Linked DNA regions of Homo sapiens: regions 2, 3 and 4 are each linked to region 1. Evidence: promoter capture Hi-C in 16 types of primary human blood cells and fetal thymus (Javierre and others, 2016). All regions are on one chromosome and are shown on one strand. Each heading gives the region's core, a stretch centred on a gene start or on the middle of the fragment in contact. The rest is flanking DNA. Distances are from core to core; before and after follow the strand shown. Region 1 holds the start of SEC61A1 (SEC61 translocon subunit alpha 1). Region 2 holds the start of HMCES (5-hydroxymethylcytosine binding, ES cell specific). Region 3 overlaps MBD4 (methyl-CpG binding domain 4, DNA glycosylase). Region 4 overlaps ZXDC (ZXD family zinc finger C).

Region 1 (4,134 bases), core at 307-2,806:
CCAATGCCTTTGCAAACTATATACTCCTTTTATTTGGAATTCCTTTCCGTCCCTTCAAGGAGACTTCTATTTCTCCTTCAAAACCACCATAAGACATCATGTCTCCCAGAGTTAATCCCTTCCTGAGCCACTGCTATACCTTGCACGTATTTCCCTTGTTCCGTCTACCACACTGAGTTACAAGGCCAAGGTCACATAGCTATTAAGGTGCTATGTAAAGGGTGGGACCTAGGCTTGCCTGCCTCCAGAGCCATGCCCCTTCGCTACACTGGAATTGAGGGGGTAAAGCTTTACAAATTCGTCCATTAAAAGCAGCACATGGGCATTTATATGAAACTATTTTACGTAAAAAAATGAAAGTGGATTCCAAGCACCCAAGTGTCCATGTGAATGCTTTAACAACAGTTTGAAAAATAATGTGAGGACACAAACATTTTATTCCCCACTCTCTAACCTAGGAACCTAATGAAACTTTTTTTCGTTGACAGCTGTAGTTACACTGGCAACACTCACTCCACACAATTTCTGATTCAGCACAGCTCTAAATTTAATCTTTCCTTGTTTTAATACACCGTCTGTGAAAAGCAGCAGACTTCACAAAAGAATAGCCTTTATTCCCCCTATTGTGACAGCCTACATAAAAGGTACAAAATCATTTGTAAATACTAAAGTGACAGCCCTTCCCTTTAGCAGCTGGATACAAAGGGCATCTCCTGGGAAAAAAAACCAACCCGTGATCTGCTCCCGTTGGAGGTGAAAAAGGGAGGGTAACTCAATCTGCTATCCTAACTGAGGCCTTATTCATTCATGGCCCGGATCCATTTTTGGGACAGGGCAACCGGAGGCTTTGTTCTCGGAGCAACATCCACCAAAGATGCTCCAAATAAAGCACAGTGATTTCAGTGGAAATTTCCACACAACCAGGTCACCTTTCGACAGCTCTCCGGAATAACAGAGCACAACTACACTCCAAGGGAAGAGAAGGGAGAGTTTCCATTGCCGTGCTGAAGCCATTTTTAATCATACTGTAAACTTCCAGAGTCCAGACAGTTTCCTGAAACCTTCTTTGTTGGCGATTTGGGGTACTTACCTTCCTCTCTGGCTTCTGAATTTCCGGCAGGATGACACAGAAGGGCTTGATGACTTCCAGAAATTTGACTTTGATGGGAGAAACAAAACAGGAAGAGTTGGGACACAGAGAAGTAACCTTCCGCGCTACCCAGGGACGCCTTCTGCCCACGACGAGTGAGAGCAGGGGCCAGGGGAGCCGGCCGCACCCCGGACGCGTGGGGATACTCGAGAAGGGCCGGGGGCACGGGCCGCGTTCTGCAGGGGGCCGGTCAGGGTTGGCCGGCGGGCGCCCGACCGCACGGGTGTGGGGAAGGGGGATCTGTTCCGTCCCGGCCTCAATAGGGCTTCCCTACAGGACTCACTTGCCATGGCGGCGGCTGCTCGGGCTCCGGGTCCCGCTTCAGCTCAGCTCTGCTCCGCGTGAGGCGACGCTGCCCGCGGCCCAGCGCGTTCCACTGCACAGCAGCTCCGCCGAGAGACACGTCAGTGCTAGCCCGGCGGCAAGCGGCGCGGCGCGGCGCGGGGCGGGGCCGGGGCCGGGCCTCGGATCGCTTCCGCTTCCTGCCACGCGCGCCCGCCGGCCGCCGCGCTTCGCCGCGCCGCGCCGCTTCGCCGAGACCTCAAGCCCCGGCATGCAGCGGGGCTCCTGGGGCCTGTCGGGAAGGGGCCTGGCGCGCGGGGCCCGCCGGGACTGGGGGTGTGCGGCTGCGCAGACTTGGTAACGCGAGAGCGCGCGGGGAGGGTGTGTCACGCCTCCCGAGACTGGGGCTGTGCGGCCTCACGGAGAAACTGAGGCAGGCGCGAAGCGTCGAGTGCGCGCGTGGCCCTGCAGGCAGGCGGAGACCCTGGTGGCTCCCATACACGTAACAGCACTCACTGCTCTTTGACGTTAGTGAATAGACCGTAAGCTCCCTGGAGCAGGGACCTTATCCCAGCGTCTACCGCGGCGCCCGTCACCTAGTAGGTCTCCGTCATTACCTGCTGAGTAGGGCGCGGGCTGGTGGGGCTTACCGAGCACCCTCGCTGTCTGAGTCATTAAGCAAACCCGGAGGCTTGTCGTGGGTGTGGGTCCCCTTCCATCTGAGAACGAATGGGATGAGTTTCTGGAGAGACTTGGCCGGAGAAGGGCCGGGGCAGCTCGGGAAGTAGTCTGCCTCACAGAAGAATTCAGGAAGGCCTCCTGGGAGAGTACCTTTGTGCCGAGCCTTGATAGATTCTGGCGAGAAGGAATGAGGGAACAGGTTGAGGAGACTGTTGTGGGCAAAGCATGGCGGTGTGATTGCCTAAGATCGGTGTGGGAAAGGGGGATAACGGGTAGGGCAAGGGATGCTGGGGCTGGGGGTTGGAATTTACTTTCAGGCATCTGTAGTCAGTAGGTATGATGTCATCTAAGAGAAACAGACTTAATGCTGTGAGCATTTAGCAGGGAGGAGGTGGGCACGCCTTGTGGGATCAGGCAAGGTTTCATGGAGCTAAACCTTGACCAGGACAGGTAGAAGTTGAGGGTACATATGTGGCAAGATGCTTTTTTGCTTTTAATTTAGGTGTCAACTATTTGGATTTTTCCATTCTCACCCATTTCTAGCAGATAATCAGGTTTTGTACATTCTTGGCTCAGAAAGTTGGACAGGACAGGAAGTCTTTTTTGGAATACAAACCCACTGGTGGAAAATTCAAAGGACTACTGGGAACAGGCAGGTAACTTCAGTGAAGTGGTCTAGGTGTGACATCACTTGATATCCATCCCCCACCAAAAAGGGGAAAAAGAAGACATTGACTCTTTATTCAGAGTCTGAAATGCAACCCATCTTCACTTCCAGGACCCACTGATGATCTCTTCTGGAGTTTTGGCCTGAAGCTAAAACTGGCAGCCCCTGGACTAAGTTCAGCATATAGACTAGATCCGATATTTAGCCATTATGCACCCTGCACCATATTGATGGTTAAAATGTTGAAATATTTCGAGGGTAAATAGTATAGTAATTACAATAAATATTACAATTAGTTAATAGAAATTTTAATATAAACTCATTGGTTTGTGCTAATAGTTGTAGGATGTCAGTACCATTGATAACAGGCCTCCTGTTGTTTCCACATTATGACACAATCTGGCCTGTGTCACTGCAGGGACTGCAGCCAAGTTACGTGTGTTAAATCACTGATTGCTTTAGGAGAATCACTAGTTTAAAATATTTTTATTGGACTGGGTGCAGTGGCTCACACCAGTAATCCCAGCACTTCGGGAGGCCAAGGCAAGAGGATCACTTGAGCCCAGGAGTGCAAGACCAGCCTGGGCAACATGGCAAAACCCTGTCTCTAGAAAAAAATACAGAAAAAAATTAGCTAGGCATGGTGGCGCATGCCTGTAGTCCCAGCTACTGGAAAGGCTGAGGTGGGAGGATCCCTTGAGCCTGGGAGGTCGAGGCTGCAGTGAGCTGAGATCTCACCACTGCACTTCAGCCTGGGTGACGACAGAGTGAGACTCTGTCTCAAAAAATAATAAAATATTTCTATTGTAAGCACATACATTAATTCTTCGGAAAATAGGTATGCAGTGTTTTATATTTATACATTTAAGATTTTATTATAGGATATTAGAAACATCCACCTAGAATGAAAGAGACCACAAAAATCTGGATGAATTTTCAATACTTTTAAGTATGATAAATGTAAATCTTGATATCTGCAGAAGAATAAACAAGAAATTTGTAATAATAATGAATCCCCGCCTGGAACTTCTTTTGATACTGTTTAAGAATCAGCACAAAATAAAATTTATAATTTATAAGATAAACTTTATTACATAAAATCTATAGTTTTGTAGTGAAAAAATAATTTTTTTCAACCAAAAATTTGACATTGCTAGTGACAGAAATGTTGGGTACTGAGTGCTCAGAAGTTCTATTGTTAAAAGATCAAAGTGTTAAACATATATTCATCAGAATGCTCTTAAAGCTTGTGCAAGTGAAGAAAAATTGTGATTATCGATGAGAAAAGAACTTAAAAGAATATAATCAGTTTCATAAATTAAGTATTTGAAAACTTAGAACTCCCAAAAAGGTT
Region 2 (4,276 bases), core at 1,752-4,251, 1.2 Mb before region 1:
ACTGCAACCTCCACATTTTTTTTTTTTATAGTACAGACAGAGTTTCATCATGTTGGCCAGACTGATCTCAAACTCGTGACCTCAAGAGATCCCACTGCCCCGCCTCAGCCTCCCAAAGTGCTGAGATTACAGGCGTGAGCCACCGTGCCCAGCCATTATTTGTTATCTTTATTTCTTTTTGAGATGGAGTCTCACTCTGTTGCCCAGGCCAGAGTACAGTGGCACAATCTTGGCTCACCCCAACCTTCGCCTCCCGGGTTCAAGCGATTCTCCTGCCTCAGCCTCCCAAGTAGCTGAGATTACAGGCGCCCGCCATCACACCCAGCTAATTTTTGTATTTGCAGTAGAGACGGGGTTTCACCATGTTGGCCAGGCTGGTCTCGAACTCCTGACCTCAGGTGGTCCAGCCGTCTTGGCCTCCCAAAGTGCTAGGATTACAGGTGTGAGCCACCATGCCCAGCCTGTTATCTTTATTTCAAAATGATGTGATTCCCTATAATGCAGAAATGAGTCCTTTTTGACTATCATATTATCACAAAAGTTTAAAGAGTATGTACCAGAGGTATAATCAACTTTATAAAGTGATTTCAGCATTATGAATCAAATACAGTCAAAATTCAGGAAGGAAACAATCACAATTTTTTTTTTTTGAGATGGAGTCTCGCTCTGCCGCCAGGCTGGAGTGCAGTGGTGCAATCTCAGCTCACTGCAACCTCCACCTCCCAGGTTCAAGTGATTCTCCTGCCTCAGCCTCCCAAGTAACTGGGACTACAGGTGCGTGCCACCATACTCAGCTAATTTTTGTATTTTTAGTAGAGATAGGGTTTCACCATGTTGGCCAGGATGGTCTCGATCTCTTGACCTCGTGATCCGCCCGCCTCCACCTCCCAAAGTGCTAGGATTACAGGCGTGGGCCACCGTGCCCAGCCAACAATCACGATTTTTAAAAACATGTCAAGGTCATTTAAAATATTTAAGACATGGAGAAACTATTACTTTCTAGAACGAAGCATTTTTATTACACACACATACAAAGACACACACACTTTCAGGAGATAAGGCAAAAAACTAAAATATGAATGTAAGTGACTGGTAATTCCAACACTACAGGGATAAATACTATAAACACAATGAATGCAATTAAACTTCAGATAACCAAACCAAATACGTGTTTCTAGCCTTAGTAAAAGACAAACACAAAAAGATTGAAAACACAAGCAGAAAGAATAAAACTTTTCAATGCTCAAGAAACATCAGAAGTGTTTTAAATTAACTGATCTTAAGCCTGTCCTAGGCCTAGAGAAGTCTGATTAAGCTGGCCTGGTAAAGGGCATAGAAATATTCTTAAATTTTTTATTTTTTTAAATTTTTTCTTTAGGCAGGGTCTTGATCTGTCACCCAGGTGGGAGTGCAGTGGTACAACCATGGCTCATGAAGCCTCGACCTCCCCAGCTCAAGTGATCTTCCCACCTCATTTTTTTATTTTTTGTAGAGATGGGGTCTCCCTATGTTGCCCAGGCTGGTCTCCAACTCCTAGGCTCAAGTGATCCTCCCACCTCGGCTTCCCAAAGTGCTGGGGTTACAGGCATGAGCCATGGCACCTGGCCTTAAATTTTTTTATTATATTTTTAAGATACTCCAATGACCCTGATGATCAGTGAAAGCTGCTATTTTAAAACACAAAGCTCATATAAATTTGGCATATATTAAGGCTAGTATGCCATGTATAGCAAAGGCATTTAAATTGAGCCTGAAAAATACGTCTTTATCAGTGTTAGAAGCCACTGATAAAACTTCTTTCATGAGGCCAAGAGAGGTTCTCAACTGGAAGTCAGAATATATCAGTAAAGGCTGGTTTTTAATGTCATCCCAAGAGGCTGAGCACACACCAAACCAAATAGGAGATGACCATCACGAGGCTGGGCGAGGGGCTAGCATAGTGCAATGCTGGTTACCTTCTCAAAGTGCAGTCGAGACAGAAGCACTGGGCTGTTGGATTGAGGACTCTTGTTGTAAGAGGGGCAGTACTTATCAGGGTCCCTCCACTCCGGGAGCCGCTGCTGGCCCCGCCGATCCTGGTAGGCGCAAGCTCTCGTGAGAACATCTCTAGGTAAGTGACAGGATGTTCGCCCACACATTCTTCAACACCGCCCCTCGCAACCTTTAAATTACAAAACGTAAGGAAAAGGCTTACGTATCTCAAATATTAGGTCTTATTCCTTGAGTCCCCGCCTTCTCTTTCCGTTCCCACAGGGCCGTGCCCCTCCGTGACCACCGTCTAAAGTCTTCCCCAAAAAGTCCCACAAAGACAAGGATGTGCCCGTTTGCTTCGCTCCCTGAGCCCACTGCCCAGCTCCGTGCAGGGCACTGAGGCAAGTCCCGAGAGGAGCTCTGCAAATGCCTGCCTGAGCGCAGGAAGAGCCGCAGCGGAGGGGGCTTCACAGTCCAGCGAAGCAGGGCAAGCGCAGCTAGCTGGGGTCGCCTCCTCCGGGTGACTTGGTGCCCCCAACTCCCCGTCCTTCCCCCCAGTCCCCGCTGGGGTCAGCGACCCACGCCGGCCAGCAACCGGTCACCTCGAGGGCGGCCACTGGACGGCCCGGGGCCGGGGTGCAGAATCCCCGCCTCCCGCCCGCTAGTCCGCAGCGTCCCCGGGCCCGACCTGCGAACCTGTGGGCCGCGGATCCCGCTCCGGACTCTGCTCCCCGGAGCGGGGGCCGGTGCTCGGGGAGCAGGTGGCCCCCAGCCACCGGCCGCGATCCCTCGCCCCTCCCCGCGTCGCCTCCGCTCCGCTCCGGCCCTCAGACTCCGCCGCCCCGCGTCGCCTCACTTCGGCCCAGGCCGCCCTCTCCGCGTCGCCTCGCGTCCGCTCGGGCCTCTGCTCCCCTCTGTCAGCTCGCGTCGCTTCCTTTCCCCTCCCCTCCCCTCGCCATACCCCGACCGCCCGCGTCGCCTCCCCTCCCCTCACCTCGCCCCGGCAGCGCGCGTCACCTCCCTCGACTCTCCTCACCCCCGCTCCGCTCCGCTTTGGCCACCCGCGTCACCGCCCCTCACGTCAGCCCCGCCTCAGCCCGCGCTCCCGGCGCCAGGCCCCGCCCCCAAGGGCCCTTGGTTCCCGCGGTGCCCTCGGGCCCCGGAGGCGGCGTCTTCTCCCCTCCGGTTTGGGATGAATTTTCTCCCGTTTCCCCAGGAGACAGTGACTGCCTTGGGAGACATATCGATCCCAAGCTTCTCGGGACTCCACTTTCCTCCATATTGGCCGTTCCCTGGCGGGGTTAACCTTCCTCCCCGCCCCCAGCGTGTTTCAGGGCTGGCAGGGAAGGTTCCCGCCGCGCTGAGTCTAGGGCACAGGGTCATGGAAGGCGGGAAACCAGGAAACTCCACTCCTTACTTCACAGTCCTGCCAGCTGCCTCACAGTGCGAGGCAAAAATGGAGGAACACTGAAGAAATGAAAGTCAGAAGAACTTCCAGGAATCGCGCACTTCGCCCTCAAACATTGGTGGGCACTAGAATAAGCCTTTCCTGCCCCAGCCCCTCAGCTGAATCTCTAAGGGTGAGGCCCAGATTTTTAAAACAGCCCTTTCGGGTGTACTTTGGCCTCAAAGTTGGTAAAATAGCCTGGCTTGAGTTTAAAAGCCTGCTCCCCTTGGGACCTAAACCGGAGATTCTTCATCTGCAACCAACAGAGAATGCTCTAGAGGGCTGTTCGCCTATGCTGATTCGCTGAACTGAACAGGGAGCAGAAACCCCAGGGCACACTCCATGTAAGACCAGATGCTGGAACGATCAGACACAGGACCCAAGCCCTTTGGAGCCTCCATTTATCGACTATCAAAGGAGGATGCGTTGTGAAGAAGCACGAACGGGAGGGAGTGTGAACTCTGCCTGTTAGCTGATTCACTCAACCACCCTCTACCGCTCCCACCCCTGGGCTTGGTGCTGGGACAGCGATGACGGGGAGAGGGTCCTGCCTCACAGGACTACAACAGCCAAAGGGCTGTGGGTGCAAGGGGGACAGGGCAGGTGTTCTGCCTCTTTAGGGGAGGCCTTGAAGGGGAAGGTGGAGCCCTGAAGCATGAGTCTGCAGAAGTAGCAATCATTCAATAAATACATGCTGATTTATTACAGGGATAAGATGGTTTCTTGGGGGATAGATTCAAGAGGAGTTGAGAATGTTTTATTCATTTACAATGTCCCTTTCCTGGAAGGGTGGACAGCAAGATTTAGGACAAGCTAAAATCATCCCCTATTTAAAAAAAAAAAAAAAAAAAGTCACCA
Region 3 (2,901 bases), core at 402-2,901, 1.4 Mb before region 1:
CTTCTTCCCATCCTCTTTCCAGCCAGTAATCTTAAAACTTGAAGGAAAATTAAAAGCCTTCACTTGTGAAAAATTTAGGGAAGGCTTCTTATATACATAAATGAGTGGAGAATAGTTGGTGTCTTCACACCCCTCCTGATACTTACTACTAAGTGTGACTTCCAATTTAATTTTGTATATATCATAGTCATTTTTATCTTCTATTTTAATGTAATGCTTCTCTAAAATGCTTTAGAGCTCTAAATAATTCAAAAGTATAATCACATAGTTCATCTATTATTTGTAATATGCTCTTAATACAGAATTCAGAACTTAGCAGTTTTGTCTTTATAATACCTCAGTGAATAAGAGATAAAAGGGAGACCTTTTGAGCAGCCCTGTATTAGTTATTCATTATGCCATTATGGTATAATGAATAACTCCTTTAAAGAATAATAATTTTACTTAAACTCCTGTGGGGAAACAGCCTGGAGAAATTTGTGAAGCAGGAGATTAGGTTTGATTCTTGTTCCCAGTTCTACCCATGATTTTATGTCTTTTCTGTGCCTGGAGTTTCTCTGCCTTTAACACAAGATGGCCATATATACCTAGGAACTGCATAAGAATTCTTCAAGTCTGTGTCCTAGACACTGAGCTTCTTGAAGAAAGCTTTGAGGTTTATGTAGATTTATTGCTAGCAAAATGGGCAAATATTAAAAACTTTTTTTTGTGGTAAGAGTCTAGTTCTCAACATGAGATGAAGTACTCTTAGTACGAGGTGTCCATGAAATAGTGAAGACACCCATTGGCTTAGCTAGAAATTGCCAAGTAAACCTGGCATAAAGGAGACTAGTAATTATTCATAGGAGCCCACAGAAAAAGTTGTCAAATCAGAGCAGTCAGAGCAGTTTCCTTTGTTCTTTTTTTTTTTTACTCTCTACTGGGCTTTACCTACTCAAACTAAAATAGCGAAAAAACAGTAGTCTAATTATCTGGAGACCTGGATACTTGTTCCAGTTTATAGTCAATCCCAGTATCATTTTGGGATGATTGCTTCATTTAGAAGCTTCACTTTCTTCATCTGTAAAATAGAGGTAACCATCCTGACTAGTCCTGTTTTTCACATCAAAAATATTGTAAAATGAGAAGTGAAAAAGATGCTATACAAATGCAAGGTATTATTAACTGATATTCAAATTGCGAGGGTATGGTTAAGGAGTATTACATGTGATTTTAGAAATTTGAGAAGTCTGATAACACTGGTTCCCAATAGATAGAGGTTCTCAATAGGTAGTTGTCTCAGGTGTTCTAGGGTTCAAATTGTAGGTTTTTCTGCAGATTCTGTTTTGTCTGTATCCCTTTTTTTGGTAAGCGTAAAAGTAAGTGTTCACTGCAGAAATTTTGGAAAATACAGAAAAGTAAAGAAGGAAAGAAAAATTAGCACTTGGCAACAACCATTATATCATTTTGGCTTATTTCATTCTTAACTTCTGTATTGTTATTTATATATGTTTCCCCTTTTTTATAAAATTGGGATCATATGTAGACTCTTGCTTTTTCATTTAGAAGTTAATAGGAAAATATTCACAATAGTCTAAAAAATACTTTAATGACCACATTATACAAATGCATCGTAATTTAAAATATTCCATACTGCCTTTAATTTTTCAATACTATAAACTCTGAACATAAGTCATAAAGAACTAGTGTCACAGAGTGGTTAAAGGTGAGGACTCAGGAGCCAGACTGTCTGGATTTGAATTTTAGCTGGGACACTTAGTATCTGTGTGATCTTGAGCAAGTTACTTAGCTTCTCTGTGCCTCAATGTCCTTATCTGTAAAGTGGAGATAAAAATAGTACCAAGTTCATGGGTCATTAGTTAGATTAATTGGGTATTTATGTAAAGGGCTTAGAATAGTGCCTGGCATGCTTTGTAATAGTGTTGATATTATTATTTGCATCCCTCAATATTGCTTTAAGCTAAACCATAGACTCCATAAAGTGTTTACTTTTCCTTTTCAGAAGATACCATCCCACGAACACAGATAGAAAGAAGGAAAACAAGCCTGTATTTTTCCAGCAAATATAACAAAGAAGGTATCCCTTTCCCAATCAGAACAGCAAATTCTAATTCCATTTTGGGTTTTCAATTCTGATGCACTATGTTTGTTTAGCTCTTAGCCCCCCACGACGTAAAGCCTTTAAGAAATGGACACCTCCTCGGTCACCTTTTAATCTCGTTCAAGAAACACTTTTTCATGATCCATGGAAGCTTCTCATCGCTACTATATTTCTCAATCGGACCTCAGGTTTGGGGATTATTATCATCTTTGTCTTAGTAGAGACAGTGTGGTAGGGAGAAAGCACTGAATTGAGGCCTGGGTTCAAAGTCCATTTTGAGTGTGTCACCTGGGATAGGGCATTCCCCCTTCACCCTTAAACTCTTCACCTATGAGGAAATGAGACTGGATGACATCCAACAGACCTTTTAGAATAAAGAGGTAGATTTTATTTATTTTATACTTCCAAATTCTTTTTGATCATCAGTGAAAATCAGTTAACGTTTCTCCACCCTCTTTCATGTGTGTTTAAAAGTATCTTTTTCACTGAATGTACCTTGTGTTCTATATGCTTCTACTCTCATTATCTGCTGATCTGATCATTTAAAAGCTAATCATGCAAGGCCAGTTTTCAGCATAATTTGGACTATTAGCCCAATATATTAGCAGTTTTGGCATTTGATTCTGAAAGTGGTTGCTGGTTCAGATAATGGCTTCTCACCAGTGTTTTTTTGTTTTTTGTTTTCTTTAAAAAAAAAAACCCTCTGGATGAGATTTCTATGAGAAACTACTTGAACATGAAATCAGCCCACCTGGAGTCTTGTAATCATTCAGTTACTTTTACTTCCCAGGCAAAATGGC
Region 4 (4,010 bases), core at 1,272-3,771, 1.6 Mb after region 1:
GTGTTGACCTGCAGTTGTTGGGAATGTAGGACTCCAACACAGTGAGCTCTTCACCAGGATGGGCAGCTTTCCCTGCTTTCACAGGGATAGGGTTCCTCCAGAAGGGCAAGAAAGGATTCCTCCCTGGAAAGGCAGAAGAATGGAGTCGGCTGGGTGGCAGAGCCCAGGTGGGGATTGTGGTCTGTGGTGAGGGCCCAGGAGGAAGGACCAGTCATTCAAACAGAAACTGGAATGTGTGCCTAGCATGCCCCTAACCTGTATATGCACACGGCTCTCCTTATAATGTCCTTAAACAAGAATTTTTAAAGGATGAGATGAGAATTATGAACGGGTTTTATTATTTTTTCCCTCGCATATGCCTGTGGACTGTCTTGCGCATTCCTCTTCAGAGAGAATGTGGCTTGAGGCCACTAGCTCAAAGTCTTTTTCAGTCATACACTCTTGGGAATCTGATGGTGGCTGTAGACCCTTTCCCTGCTAAAAGAGTATCATTCTGTGTATGACACTGGGAAGGTCAGGGATCCCGCCTGCTTCCAGGCATGAGGTCTCTTGAGGGTTTTGTGTTGGCTGATCCATGAGGCTTCTTGTGTTGAGATGAGATTAGATGGTTAGATGAGATTAGATGTTTAGAAGCAGGAGCAGGACCAGGGAAGCATCATCAAAGGGCCCAGACCTGAGTTTTCTGAAGGCCTGAGCCAGGGAGTGGGAATGATGAGGGTCTCTAGCAGGTGAGATTGCAGAGGGAGAACCAAAGGGTGTAATTATCTATGGGGGTGTGGGGGGTTCTTGCCAAGGCAGAGAGAGTCTGTGTTCAGATTTACATGACCAAGTGTGTGAACACACCGAAGCCCAAAATACCCTGGAGGTATTTTGGGACCAGATTGAGGCCAAAGATCAGCATTTCTGAGTTAGATGTTGCTGGGGAAAGTAGGGTTCCTTGGGCTGATACTTTTGGGCAGTGCTATGCCATGTACATCTGTGTGGCAGTTCATAGGCATGATAGTATCTCGTTAAAGGCTCCAAGAGGAGCTGCAGCAAAGACTCCTGTTAAACATCCTGCAGCCTCATGTTTTCCACCCTGTTGGAGCCCTGAATGTTTCTGTCGGAGGAGAAGTATTGCTGTGGAATTGTTGAGGCTTAGCTGCTTTGGCCAGGGGTTAGGATTGAGGTGAAGATTACAAAGCAGGGAACCTAAGGAAATTGCGAAAGGAAAAAGAATCCAAACAGCAAGGGACAGGGCTGGCAGTTGGAGGGTGTCAGGGAGGAAATTTGGATATGTAGAGGATGCAGCATCACCCCCAAGGGGTGAAAAATCCTGGCTAGTAGGATGATTTGTAGCCTTTCAAAGATCAACCCTACCAGACAAAATCTTGTTCCTTAGTATTTGATTTCTCTCATGGGGTTCTTGGGTCTCAGTGTGTGTGCAGGATCAGTGCTCCGGAGCCGGCCAGTAGATGGCTGTGAACGGAGGACTTTCTCTTTATCGGTTGCTCCATCTCCAAGTCATGTTGCAACAGGTGGCCAGCGTGTGCCTATTGGCTGCCATTAGCTGCCTTCCTGTGGTGATCACAAAGCCAAGCATTAATGGTCTTCCCTTTTTAGAGAGTGCTTCTGAGTCATGTTTTCCCTTGTCTGCTTCAGTGTGAACAGGGTCTGGTGGGTGTGACTAGCATTAGCTATGTTGTATAATTTTTGCCACGCTTTGAGCAGGGTTTGTGTTTTCCTTGTTCAGGCTGTGAGAAGACATTTATCACAGTGAGTGCCCTGTTTTCCCATAACCGAGCCCACTTCAGGGAACAAGAGCTCTTTTCCTGCTCCTTTCCTGGGTGCAGCAAGCAGTATGATAAAGCCTGTCGGCTGAAAATTCACCTGCGGAGCCATACAGGTAATGAGCTAGGGAACGCACAGCATTTGGACCCAAGATTTGTCTTCATCGTAGCTGTTGGAGTTGTAAATTTTATGCTGTATAATTTTTTCTTTTATAAGGTGAAAGACCATTTATTTGTGACTCTGACAGCTGTGGCTGGACCTTCACCAGCATGTCCAAACTTCTAAGGCACAGAAGGTAATCCTTACATTTTGGTTTGCATTATCAGGTTTGAAAATGAGTGGTTTGTCAGCAGCAGAAACCAATGAATGAAATATCTGTAGACATTTTTTAAGTTGTTAAAAAAGGAGCTCAGTGTTGATGATTTGGAAAATTCAGAAAACTGTAAAAAGAAAATTGCTCAGAATCTCATCACCTGAAGTCAGTTTTTTCTGTGTATACTTTTTTTAAAAAAAGCTAAATTGGCATACTCTGTTCTTAAAAAAAAAACAATTCCAGGTTTTTTTTTTAACTTAACATTGTAGAATAAGCTTTCTTCATGTAATTACAAGTTTTCATGGTGGTAATGACAACCCTGGAGACTGTGTCCAGGTGACACTCAGCACTTTACATGTGTGTCTTCTACCTTCCCAACAACCTCAAAGCTAATGTTCTTATTCTCCCTGTTTTACAGTGAGACTCGGAGAGATTCAGTGGTTTTTCTGTACTTGCACAGCTGGGCTCTGAGGATTTAATATAAAAATGTCACTTAGGAAAAGACACAGTCTTTACAAGTTGGCTTAAGAGAGTCCTTTTGGCATTGCAGCTGATGCTCTGTGCACATTTCTCACGACCGTCTGTCGCTCGGAAAGCTTGTTGATCATTGGGGTTTCTAAACAATAGAAACACCTTCATCAATACATTTGGGACTCCACTGTTCTTAGATTAGCTTATATTAGATTGAAGTAGCATTAATTGTTTGATGTGTGACTCTGGGGTCAGCTTAGTCATTAAAGTAGAATTTTTATGGGGTAGCTAAATTGCAAATCTGCTCACATGGATTAAAGACAGAATTAAGATTTTCCGAAATGTACTGATCATTTTTGTAAATGCAAAGTTTGTGTTTTGGTATGTTTTGTAGAATTTTAAAGAATTATGGTGAGTTGTGTGAGGAATCACAGCTCCTTTATTTTTCTGTCTGGCAGGAAACATGACGATGACCGGAGGTTTACCTGCCCTGTCGAGGGCTGTGGGAAATCATTCACCAGAGCAGAGCATCTGAAAGGCCACAGCATAACCCACCTAGGCACAAAGCCGTTCGAGTGTCCTGTGGAAGGTAGATTTTAAAACATTGCTTTGAGCAGTAAACTAAGTGCAATGCCAACATTTATCCTGTTAAGTTTCCGTTGTTTAAAGGTAAATGTTAGCTGCTTAAAGACTGACTCAATATAAGTTGCAGCATTATGTTTACTTACCTCATTGAGTTAATTGTACTATTTTGGGAGCAGTGACTTGAGAATCAGACGCAGTTTGACTCATGGCCCTGATCCTCATTAGATCTGTGGCTCTAGTTAAGTTACCTGTTTAATTTGGTGGTCGTGAGGATTAGGTGAAATGTGGAAAATGCCTGTTTATCCATCTGGCATGGAGCTCGGACTCAGTAAATGGTAGGTACTTTTGAGATCACGTTTGAATTGTCACTCCAATCATTTTGTAATTGGAGAGCAGTAAAGCTAGACTGACTTTTTCTTTTTTTGTTTAATTTTTGAGACAGTCTTGCTCTGTCACCCAGGCTGGATGCAATGGTGTGATCTTGGCTCATTGCAACCTCTGCCTCCCAGGTTTAAGTGATTCTTATGCCTCAGCCTTCTGAGTAGCTGGGACTACAGGCGTATGCCACCACGCTTGGCTGATTTTTATGCTTTTAGTAGAGACAGGGTTTCACCATGTTGGCCAGGATGGTCTCAAACTCCTGACGTCAAGTGATCCACCCACTTTGGCCTCCCAAAGTGCTGGGATTACAGGTGTGAGCCACCACGCCCAACCTGACTTTTTAAAAGGTATAGTAGAGTGGTTTTTTCCTTTAAAACACTGAAGGCTCAGTTCATTTGCCAGAAATTGGCTGCGTGACCTGTGCGTGACTTGTGCGTGCTGGCCCTACTCTAGTTCTGCAGGTGCACTGGGAGGCAGTGAGCCAGGACAC

Evidence for each region. The method cuts DNA at HindIII sites, captures the fragments that hold promoters and counts their contacts. A CHiCAGO score of 5 or more calls a contact.
Region 2: a contact is called between the fragment with the promoter of HMCES here and the fragment with the promoter of SEC61A1 in region 1, in 4 of 17 cell types (non-activated CD4 T cells, naive CD4 T cells, naive CD8 T cells and 1 more). The highest score is 7.8, in non-activated CD4 T cells.
Region 3: a contact is called between a fragment that was not itself captured here and the fragment with the promoter of SEC61A1 in region 1, in 1 of 17 cell types (activated CD4 T cells). The highest score is 6.6, in activated CD4 T cells.
Region 4: a fragment that was not itself captured here is called in contact with the fragment with the promoter of SEC61A1 in region 1 in 4 of 17 cell types (naive B cells, total CD4 T cells, total B cells and 1 more); the score reaches 10.2 in naive B cells.

What each region holds. Positions count from the first base shown.
Region 1 is chr3:128,049,859-128,053,992 of GRCh38, reverse strand. It overlaps SEC61A1 (SEC61 translocon subunit alpha 1), which reads right to left and starts at 1,556. Exons shown (of 12, transcript NM_013336.4): 1 at 1,434-1,556; 2 at 1,091-1,158. The coding sequence starts at 1,440. It overlaps LOC102723759 (a long non-coding RNA gene), which reads left to right and starts at 1,818. Exons shown (of 4, transcript XR_007096073.1): 1 at 1,818-2,031. RefSeq lists a silencer at 1,243-1,882 and a cis regulatory region at 1,375-1,991. The HindIII fragment of the contact is 3,738 bases long and covers 291-4,028 here.
Region 2 is chr3:129,277,595-129,281,870 of GRCh38, reverse strand. It overlaps HMCES (5-hydroxymethylcytosine binding, ES cell specific), which reads right to left and starts at 3,001. Exons shown (of 7, transcript NM_020187.3): 1 at 2,966-3,001; 2 at 1,956-2,161. The coding sequence starts at 2,138. COPG1 (coat protein complex I subunit gamma 1) reads right to left here. Exons shown (of 24, transcript NM_016128.4): 24 at 4,098-4,276. RefSeq lists an enhancer at 1,847-1,976 and silencers at 2,397-2,786, 2,797-3,146. The HindIII fragment of the contact is 5,702 bases long and covers 1-3,227 here.
Region 3 is chr3:129,433,238-129,436,138 of GRCh38, reverse strand. It overlaps MBD4 (methyl-CpG binding domain 4, DNA glycosylase), which reads left to right. Exons shown (of 8, transcript NM_001276270.2): 4 at 2,003-2,077; 5 at 2,155-2,289; 6 at 2,892-2,901. Among named protein-coding and RNA genes, the nearest start is that of MBD4, 5.3 kb to the left of the region's middle. The HindIII fragment of the contact is 1,207 bases long and covers 1,048-2,254 here.
Region 4 is chr3:126,470,028-126,474,037 of GRCh38, reverse strand. ZXDC (ZXD family zinc finger C) reads left to right here. Exons shown (of 10, transcript NM_025112.5): 2 at 1,733-1,885; 3 at 1,987-2,065; 4 at 3,013-3,143. Among named protein-coding and RNA genes, the nearest start is that of ZXDC, 3.9 kb to the left of the region's middle. The HindIII fragment of the contact is 321 bases long and covers 2,361-2,681 here.